Regions from separate parts of the Homo sapiens genome. Here region 1 is linked to region 2. Evidence: promoter capture Hi-C in 16 types of primary human blood cells and fetal thymus (Javierre and others, 2016). All regions are on one chromosome and are shown on one strand. The core of a region is centred on a gene start or on the middle of the fragment in contact, and the rest is flanking DNA. Distances in the headings are between cores, read along the strand shown.

Region 1 (3,973 bases), core at 1,228-3,727, 1.9 Mb before region 2:
GAAAGGTGGCTGGGTAAAAGAGGTGTGACAGGGTGCAGCATAGGTTAATTGGAGGGTTTTTGTTTTTTCCAAAATGAGAGTAAACAGAGAATATTTAAATGAGAAGGGTTGATGAAACAGAAAAGAAAATGAACAAATGATGGAACCCAGTCCTTGAGGCAAAGGAGGCGATGGGATCTCAAGCACAAATAGAGGACTTAGTCTTAAAACACCATTTCTTTCACAGAATTAGAATAAAAGGCAAAAGGATAGGGTCAGCTAAAGATCAGTTGGTAAAGGATAGAAGAGGAAGCTGCGATGCCTTAATTAATGGCTGCAACTTAGTGGAGCAAAAGTCAAGGTAGGAGGTTGAGGAGAGGAATGAATATGAGGAAGACATAAAGGGAAATGGACAAGAGAGCTGCCTGAGGATATGGGGAGGGCTGAGCCACGCTGAGGGCCTATTTGGTGGCACACTAGTGTAATAGTGTCAAAAGCACAATGTGTCTATAATGGAGCTGGCAGGGCTTTAGGTTACCACAAGAAAAGTGCAGTCTTGCTCTGCATGGTTAGAGTCCTCAAGGAAAGAGGATTTCCTTTCTGTACCACACACTCAAAGAGAGGCTGACAAACCAGAGCAAGTTCAAGGATGGTAACTGGGATGAAGGTGTGAGGAAATCCCAAAAGTGATCATTCTGAAGCCGGTCTGAGATGGAGTGAATAGGCTATTCCTCAGTCTGCCAAGATCATGGTAATACCTACTGACTACCAATTAACAGAGCAGCACCTCCAGTATTTATTGTCCCTTGATTATACAATCAGGCCTTAATCGCACTGGAGAAGGGTGGGGAGATCAGGAGATAGAAAGGGGAGAGGAAGCGGTGGCTCACGCCTGTAATCTCAGCACTTTGAGAGGCTGAGGCAGGCGGATCACGAGGTCAGGAGATGGAGACCATCCTGGCTAGCACAGTGAAACCCCATCTCTACTAAAAAAAAAAAAAAAAAAAAAAAATTAGCCGGGCATGGTGGTGGGCACCTGTAGTCCCAGTTCCTGGGGAGGCTGAGGCAGGAGTATGGAGTGAACCCAGGAGGCAGAGCTTGCAGTGAGCCGAGATCGTGCCACTGCACTCCAGCCTGGGCGACAGAGTGAGACTCCATCTCAAAAAAAAAGAAAAAAAAAAAAAGAGGAGAGGAAGACATTAGCGAACGTCATTTCCATGGGTAGAAGTGGACGACAGAGGCAAACTGAATTCCAAATAAAATCAGAGGTCAGGGTTAATCTATTAGAGACACTAGTCAAAGAATTTTGTTACTGCTCAATTCCACACAGCAAATTCATTTCTGCCCTCCCGTCATCAGGATCCTGATTCTTGTCCCCTTCTTCTGTTTCATCCTATCAGTTACCAAGTCCAGCAAATTCCACCTCCTTAATCTCTCAACTCCTCCCACTCCTCTCCATCTCCACTGTCACTGCCTTCATCCAGATCTTCATCCTGTCACCTGGATCACTGCAACTATACCCAACTGGTCCCCTGCTTGTCTTTTTCTGTCCAGTGTAATCACCACATTGCTGCCTGGGTAATTTAAAACAGATGAGAGGATGTCGCATCTGTTTTAAAATCTTCAGTGTCCTGCTCTCCACCCCCGCCCCCACATTTTAGAGTCCAAACTTCTGGGCCTGGCAATATTAATGACTACTGTTTATTGAGTATTTATCATCTACCAGTGTCAAGTGAGTAACATATCACCTCGTACAGTTTTTATTTCCCCTTCTTAGAGATGAGGAAACTGAAGCTTAGAAAGAAGTGACTTGCCCAGGGTCACAAAACTAGTTCAGTGGCAATGGGAATATTGGTACGCAGCTATCTTGGATCCCAAAGTCTATGTGCGGGTAACATGCTATTGTCCACAGGGCCCTTCACGATGTGGCTAGTGCTTACCTTTCCAGTCACCTCTCATCCTACACCTCCACACTGGCACTCCAGTGAACCACAAGCAGGCCATGCATTCTCACCTCTAGCCCTTTGCTCATCTCACTTCGAACCACTCTTCACCTGTCAGATCTCGTTCGTCCTTCAGGTCTTGGCTAAAGCAGCACCTCCTCACTGAAACCTTCTCTGATGAGTCAGCCTGACTTATGCGTACCCTAAGTCCTCCTCTACCAAACCTCCGCAATAGCTTCATGCCATACCGTTGCTATCTCCTTGGCTTAAAAAAAAAGTAAACTCTTTGAGGACAGGGATGTGTATCTTACTCATTTTTGTATTCCCAGCTTGCAGCGCAGTGCCAGACACACAGCTGAAGCTCAATAAATGTTTATTCTCTATAATGAGATGCTGGCTGGGAACGAAAAACGGAACCTGTGGTTGAGTAATGGAAAGTCCAGTACTCAGCTCTTAAAGGATTTCAAAATCATGTCACATGAGGGCAGGAAGGAGTTGGCCAAGATAAATGGAAGAGGAAGGGGAGATGTTCGAAGCAGCAGAAGCAAAGGGCTATAGGTGACACACACCTGCAAGCAGCTTAACAAGACTGGAGCAGCGTTGGGGGATGGGAAAGCAGTTTAGCAACATGAGCCATTCCAAGACTGGACTTTTCTTTATTCAAGTGTTAGGTCACTTCCTCAGGGAAGCCATCCCTGACTAGCTAGCTTTTATGCTTCCCCCCAATTACTGTCCATCCCATGACCCTGTACGTTTCAGAATCGGAAACACCTACCAACCCTTACTGACAATGCCGCCACCGCCACCACCACCACTATTATTAGAAGGTGCCATGAAACAGGGTTCTTTTTCTTCTTATTTTACTGATAGATCACCAGTGCCCACAATAATGCCAGGCACATAACAGGCAAATATTTGTTTTATTCATTCATCCAACAAATATTTATTGAGCATATATAATATGCTAGGCATTGCTCTATATGCTGGGGATATAACAAAACATGACAAAATTTGCTGTCACTGTTAAGTTTACTATGAGCAAATACATTAAATATGCTTAGCCTAGAGAAGAAAAGGTGAGAAGAGGAAGACAAACTAGCAGCTTTCAATGATGTATAGGGCAATTAAATGCAGGGGTGATTCCAAGAGCCTGAAGGAGGAACAGTGAGCTAAGATTACCGAGTAGCTGCTTTCAGCTCAACCTAAGAGTCAGAACTGGGGGAGGACCAAACAGGAGCAACCAGAAGTAGAAAGCTTTCTGTCACTGAAGAAATCTGGCCAGTGGGCAGAGGTGTCAGAGAAAAAAATCTAAGTAGTCAATGAAAAAGGGAGTCTGGGATCCAGAGGTCCCAAACTGACAGCCACAGATATGACTGGTTACAGTTGAACAGGGTTTTGTAAAAACTGAGTTGCCAATGTTTTTAAACGCCAGAATTACTTGCCAATTTTTAAAAAATGGCATCAGTCGCCAGTGTTTAAAAATCAGGAAACTGCACGCACGTGCACACACACACGGTTTGGCTTGTACTTCTCCAACATCATGTACGTTAGTACTGTACTTATAAAATTAGAAGTTTGACTCTATTTCTGACAAATGTTCTAACACCTATATTTACCTTACCGGATTGATTCTTATTGTGCATTAGTTTCTAACCCTGTAACCAAGGAATCGAGAATCTTCTTTCTCAGAAAGTAAACTTATTTAACCTCCTCACTTAAACAAATGGCGGATTATCATTCCCATTTTGCAGATGGAAAAGCAGCTTAGATGGGGAAGGAACGTGCCAGAGACAGCAAATCCAGACACAGCCAGGCTGGGAATCCAAATGTCCCATCTCCCGTGTTCCAACACTGAAGATTCTGAGCACTGCCTACCAAGAGGACAGGAGGGGCTGACTTAGGAAATCAGCACGAGCTTCCAAGTCAGAAGACCCCGGACTGAACCAGTCTGAGGGGACGCGGCTACAGACGAAGGGCGCCAGCCGGAATCAGTGAGTCCCTGGAGGAGGAAGGACCACCCAGAAACTGGCAGAGGAGGATCCTGAGACTTG
Region 2 (3,847 bases), core at 1,252-3,751:
ACCAGCTCAGCAGTGAAAATTCCCAGAAAAGCAAGGTTTCTTCTTAGTCCTGAAGCAGCCATCGCCTAAGTGCTGCTCCCTGCAGCCAGCAGCATTAATGGACGCTGCACTGCTGTCCTTCCCTGGAGACAGCAGCCAGCACTACTCAAGCTTCTCACGTAGCAACCAGAGCTCCAGAGCCAGCAGCTGCTGCTGCCTTGTATACTCACCCCTGTGATCCAACCCAAAGGAACAACCTTCTCTTTACCCCACCCCCACTCCTTACACACACTTTTTTTTTTTTTTTTTGGACCAGTGCTCCATGCCAGAAGGGCTGGAATTATGCTTTTAAGAAAGAAACAATCCTAAGGTCACCCTTTTAAACCAAGGCCTTTTATTAGAAAAATCAACATTTACCAAATTCTAAATATCCATTTTAATTAAGCCAGCAGTTTAGGAGTGAAGATTAAGCTTTGGTCTTTTGAAAGCCAATTTCCCAAGCACTCTACAATCTAATTTAAATTTGCAGCTAGAAACAGAGCCTTGTGTCATGTCCTACCAAAGGGCATAATTCATTTTTCTACACATAATGACAGTCTGAGTAAACCTTAAAGACTCTAATCCCATAACAGGCCAGAATTTTTGGCTACAGAAGAGAACTAATGATCCTGAGAAAACTGGAAGAAATCCAATAGAAAAAAAAAAGCCCTACGTCCTCTATGGAGCCCAGAAACCTCTGATTACGTGGGTATTCTCTGCTTTAGTCCTAGCTCAGATCCCACACATCTAAAATTACCACTTAGAACTTTCTGTGACCTAAAAACATTAATAATATAAAATTAACAACCAAAAAATAATTTCAAATAGGGAGTACACACTCTCCTAAAAAGCTCAGCACACTCCACTCAGCTGGATCCTCCCCAATCACAAGTATAGCTATGTAACATCTGTCCAACAAAGAAATGTAAATATGACCTTGGTCACAAATATGTCATCTAAAAACTTGTTTAGTCAACTGATGAAGGTAATTAGCACAGAACTTGGGGATTCGTTCAGTACCTATGTGCAGGAAGGAAACTGGAGAAATGAACTTAAATATAGACAAAGCCCAGTGGAACCCAGAGGTCTGGGAAAGAAATGAGTTACCGGTGAATACATTGCACAAGTAACATGAGAAAGCAGAAAATGCAGGTCATACACGCACCCCTGACCCAGACCAGCAGAGCTGACTGCAGCATCCATATCCAAGAGAAAGACCACTGACGCCCAAGAAGTGAGACAAGCAAGGACTCTATAGAATCAATTAGCATAGAAGGGGCTTTCCCAACAGTTTAACTTTCCCTCTCATGCGATTTACCTACTTGAACCAGGGCTCTTTCCTACACTCCTCTTCACATTCCCGACTTACACGCAGAGGGAAAGAGAATTCATAAAGGGAATATTTTTCTGCCTTTGAAGATATTCTCACAAGATCGTTCTCCACGCCCAAGGCAAGTAAAACGACACAATCTGGCTCAACTCCAGGCTCGAACCCTACACATTCAACGAGGCTATCTCAGACACGCTGTGGCACACGCCACGGGGAGCCAGAGAACGTGTGGTGGGGGTGGCGAAGGTAATGCCTTTGGGAAGCAGCCATCTGAGGTGGGAAGCCAGAAAACGAGAGGGAAGGCGTCCAGGAAGATTACGGAGGGGAGATCGCGGCCCCCAGAGCGATCAGAGTTGTCTGTCACAAGGCCGCGAGAACGGGGGTAGGGAGTGGGGGATCGGGGAGAGAAAAAAAGTATGCCTGTGTATTTCGAGCGGAGGGCAGCAAGAGGCCTCTCCTCAAGGGAAAGGTAAACGTGGAGTAGGCAGTTCCCAGGAAAGGGGGTGAAGAGGCGTTGGGGGAGGGGAAGCGTCCTGACCCAGGAAAAACATGAAAGGGGGAGTTGGGTCGCCTAGATTAGAGGGGGATCTCTCTCCCTGGGAAAATGGGGTGTTGCAACGGTGTGTGCAAGGCGGCGAGGGGGGTGAGAAGTGGCAGCATCCTCCTAAGAGCTTGGGGAGGGCCAGGCCCACGACCCAAGGAGAGCGAGCGCGGGGAGACGGAGGAGGTGACCCTTCCCTCCCCTGGGGCCCGATCGTGAGGTTCGGTCTCTTTTCTGTCGGACCCTTACCTTGTCCCAGGCGCTGCCGGGGCCTGGGCCCGGGCTGCGGCGCACGGCACTCCCGGGAGGCGGCAGGACTCGAGTTAGGCCCAACGCGGCGCCACGGCGTTTCCTGGCCGGGAATGGCCCGTACCCGTGAGGTGGGGGTGGGGGGCAGAAAGGCGGAGCGAGCCAAAGGCGGGGAGGGGGGGCAGGGCCAGGGAAAGAGGGGGGCCGGCACTACTGTGTTGGCGGACTGGCGGGACTGGGGCTGCGTGAGTCTCTGAGCGCAGGCGGGCGGCGGCCGCCCCTCCCCCGGCAGCGGCGGCGGCGGCGGCGGCGGCGGCGGCGGCGGCAGCTCACTCAGCCCGCTGCCCGAGCGGAAACGCCACTGACCGCACGGGGATTCCCAGCGCCGGCGCCAGGGGCACCCGGGACACGCCCCCTCCCGCCGCGCCATTGGCCTCTCCGCCCACCGCCCCGCACCCATTGGCCCACTCGCCGCCAATCAGCGGAAGCCGCCGGGGCCGCCTAGAGAAGAGGCTGTGCTTCGGCGCTCCGGCTCCTCAGAGAGCCTCGGCTAGGTAGGGGAGCGGAACTCTGGTGGGAGGGGAGGTGCGGTACACTGGGGGGATGGGTGGCTAGGGGGGCCGTCTGGTGGCTTGCGGGGGTTGCCTTTCCCGTGGGAAGTCGGGAACATAATGTTTGTTACGTTGGGAGGGAAAGGGGTGGCTGGATGCAGGCGGGAGGGAGGCCCGCCCTGCGGCAACCGGAGGGGGAGGGAGAAGGGAGCGGAAAATGCTCGAAACCGGACGGAGCCATTGCTCTCGCAGAGGGAGGAGCGCTTCCGGCTAGCCTCTTGTCGCCGATTGGCCGTTTCTCCTCCCGCCGTGTGTGAAAACACAAATGGCGTATTCTGGTTGGAGTAAAGCTCCTGTCAGTTACGCCGTCGGGAGTACGCAGCCGCTTAGCGACTCTCGCGTTGCCCCCTGGGTGGGGCGGGTAGGTAGGTGGGGTGTAGAGATGCTGGGTGTGCGGGCGCGGCCGGCCTCCTGCGGCGGGAGGGGAGGGTCAGTGAAATCGGCTCTGGCGCGGGCGTCCTCCCACCCTCCCCTTCCTTCGGGGGAGTCGGTTTACCCGCCGCCTGCTTGTCTTCGACACCTGATTGGCTGTCGAAGCTGTGGGACCGGGCCCTTGCTACTGGCTCGAGTCTCACATGAGCGAAACCACTGCGCGGGGCGCGGGGGTGGCGGGGAGGCGGGCGTTGGTACGGTCCTCCCCGAGGCCGAGCGCCGCAGTGTCTGGCCCCGCGCCCCTGCGCAACGTGGCAGGAAGCGCGCGCTGGAGGCGGGGGCGGGCTGCCGGCCGAGACTTCTGGATGGCGGCGGCCGCGGCTCCGCCCCGGGTTCCCACCGCCTGAAGGGCGAGACAAGCCCGACCTGCTACAGGCACTCGTGGGGGTGGGGGAGGAGCGGGGGTCGGTCCGGCTGGTTTGTGGGTGGGAGGCGCTTGTTCTCCAAAAACCGGCGCGAGCTGCAATCCTGAGGGAGCTGCGGTGGAGGAGGTGGAGAGAAGGCCGCACCCTTCTGGGCAGGGGGAGGGGAGTGCCGCAATACCTTTATGGGAGTTCTCTGCTGCCTCCCGTCTTGTAAGGACCGCCCTGGGCCTGGAAGAAGCCCTCCCTCCTTTCCTCCTCGCGTGATCTCGTCATCGCCTCCATGTCGAGTCGCTTCTCGATT

The links. The method cuts DNA at HindIII sites, captures the fragments that hold promoters and counts their contacts. A CHiCAGO score of 5 or more calls a contact.
Region 1: a fragment that was not itself captured here is called in contact with the fragment with the promoter of SETD5 in region 2 in 1 of 17 cell types (monocytes); the score reaches 7.2 in monocytes.

Annotation. Positions count from the first base shown.
Region 1 is chr3:11,272,534-11,276,506 of GRCh38, reverse strand. The region is part of intron 1 of ATG7 (autophagy related 7); the gene reads right to left. Among named protein-coding and RNA genes, the nearest start is that of ATG7, 2.1 kb to the right of the region's middle. RefSeq lists enhancers at 3,325-3,914, 3,915-3,973. The HindIII fragment of the contact is 1,403 bases long and covers 1,776-3,178 here.
Region 2 is chr3:9,396,269-9,400,115 of GRCh38, reverse strand. It overlaps SETD5 (SET domain containing 5), which reads right to left and starts at 2,501. Exons shown (of 23, transcript NM_001080517.3): 1 at 2,139-2,501. It overlaps THUMPD3-AS1 (THUMPD3 antisense RNA 1), which reads left to right and starts at 3,493. Exons shown (of 4, transcript NR_132781.1): 1 at 3,493-3,556. RefSeq lists an enhancer at 1,634-1,683 and a silencer at 2,294-3,603. The HindIII fragment of the contact is 6,018 bases long and covers 453-3,847 here.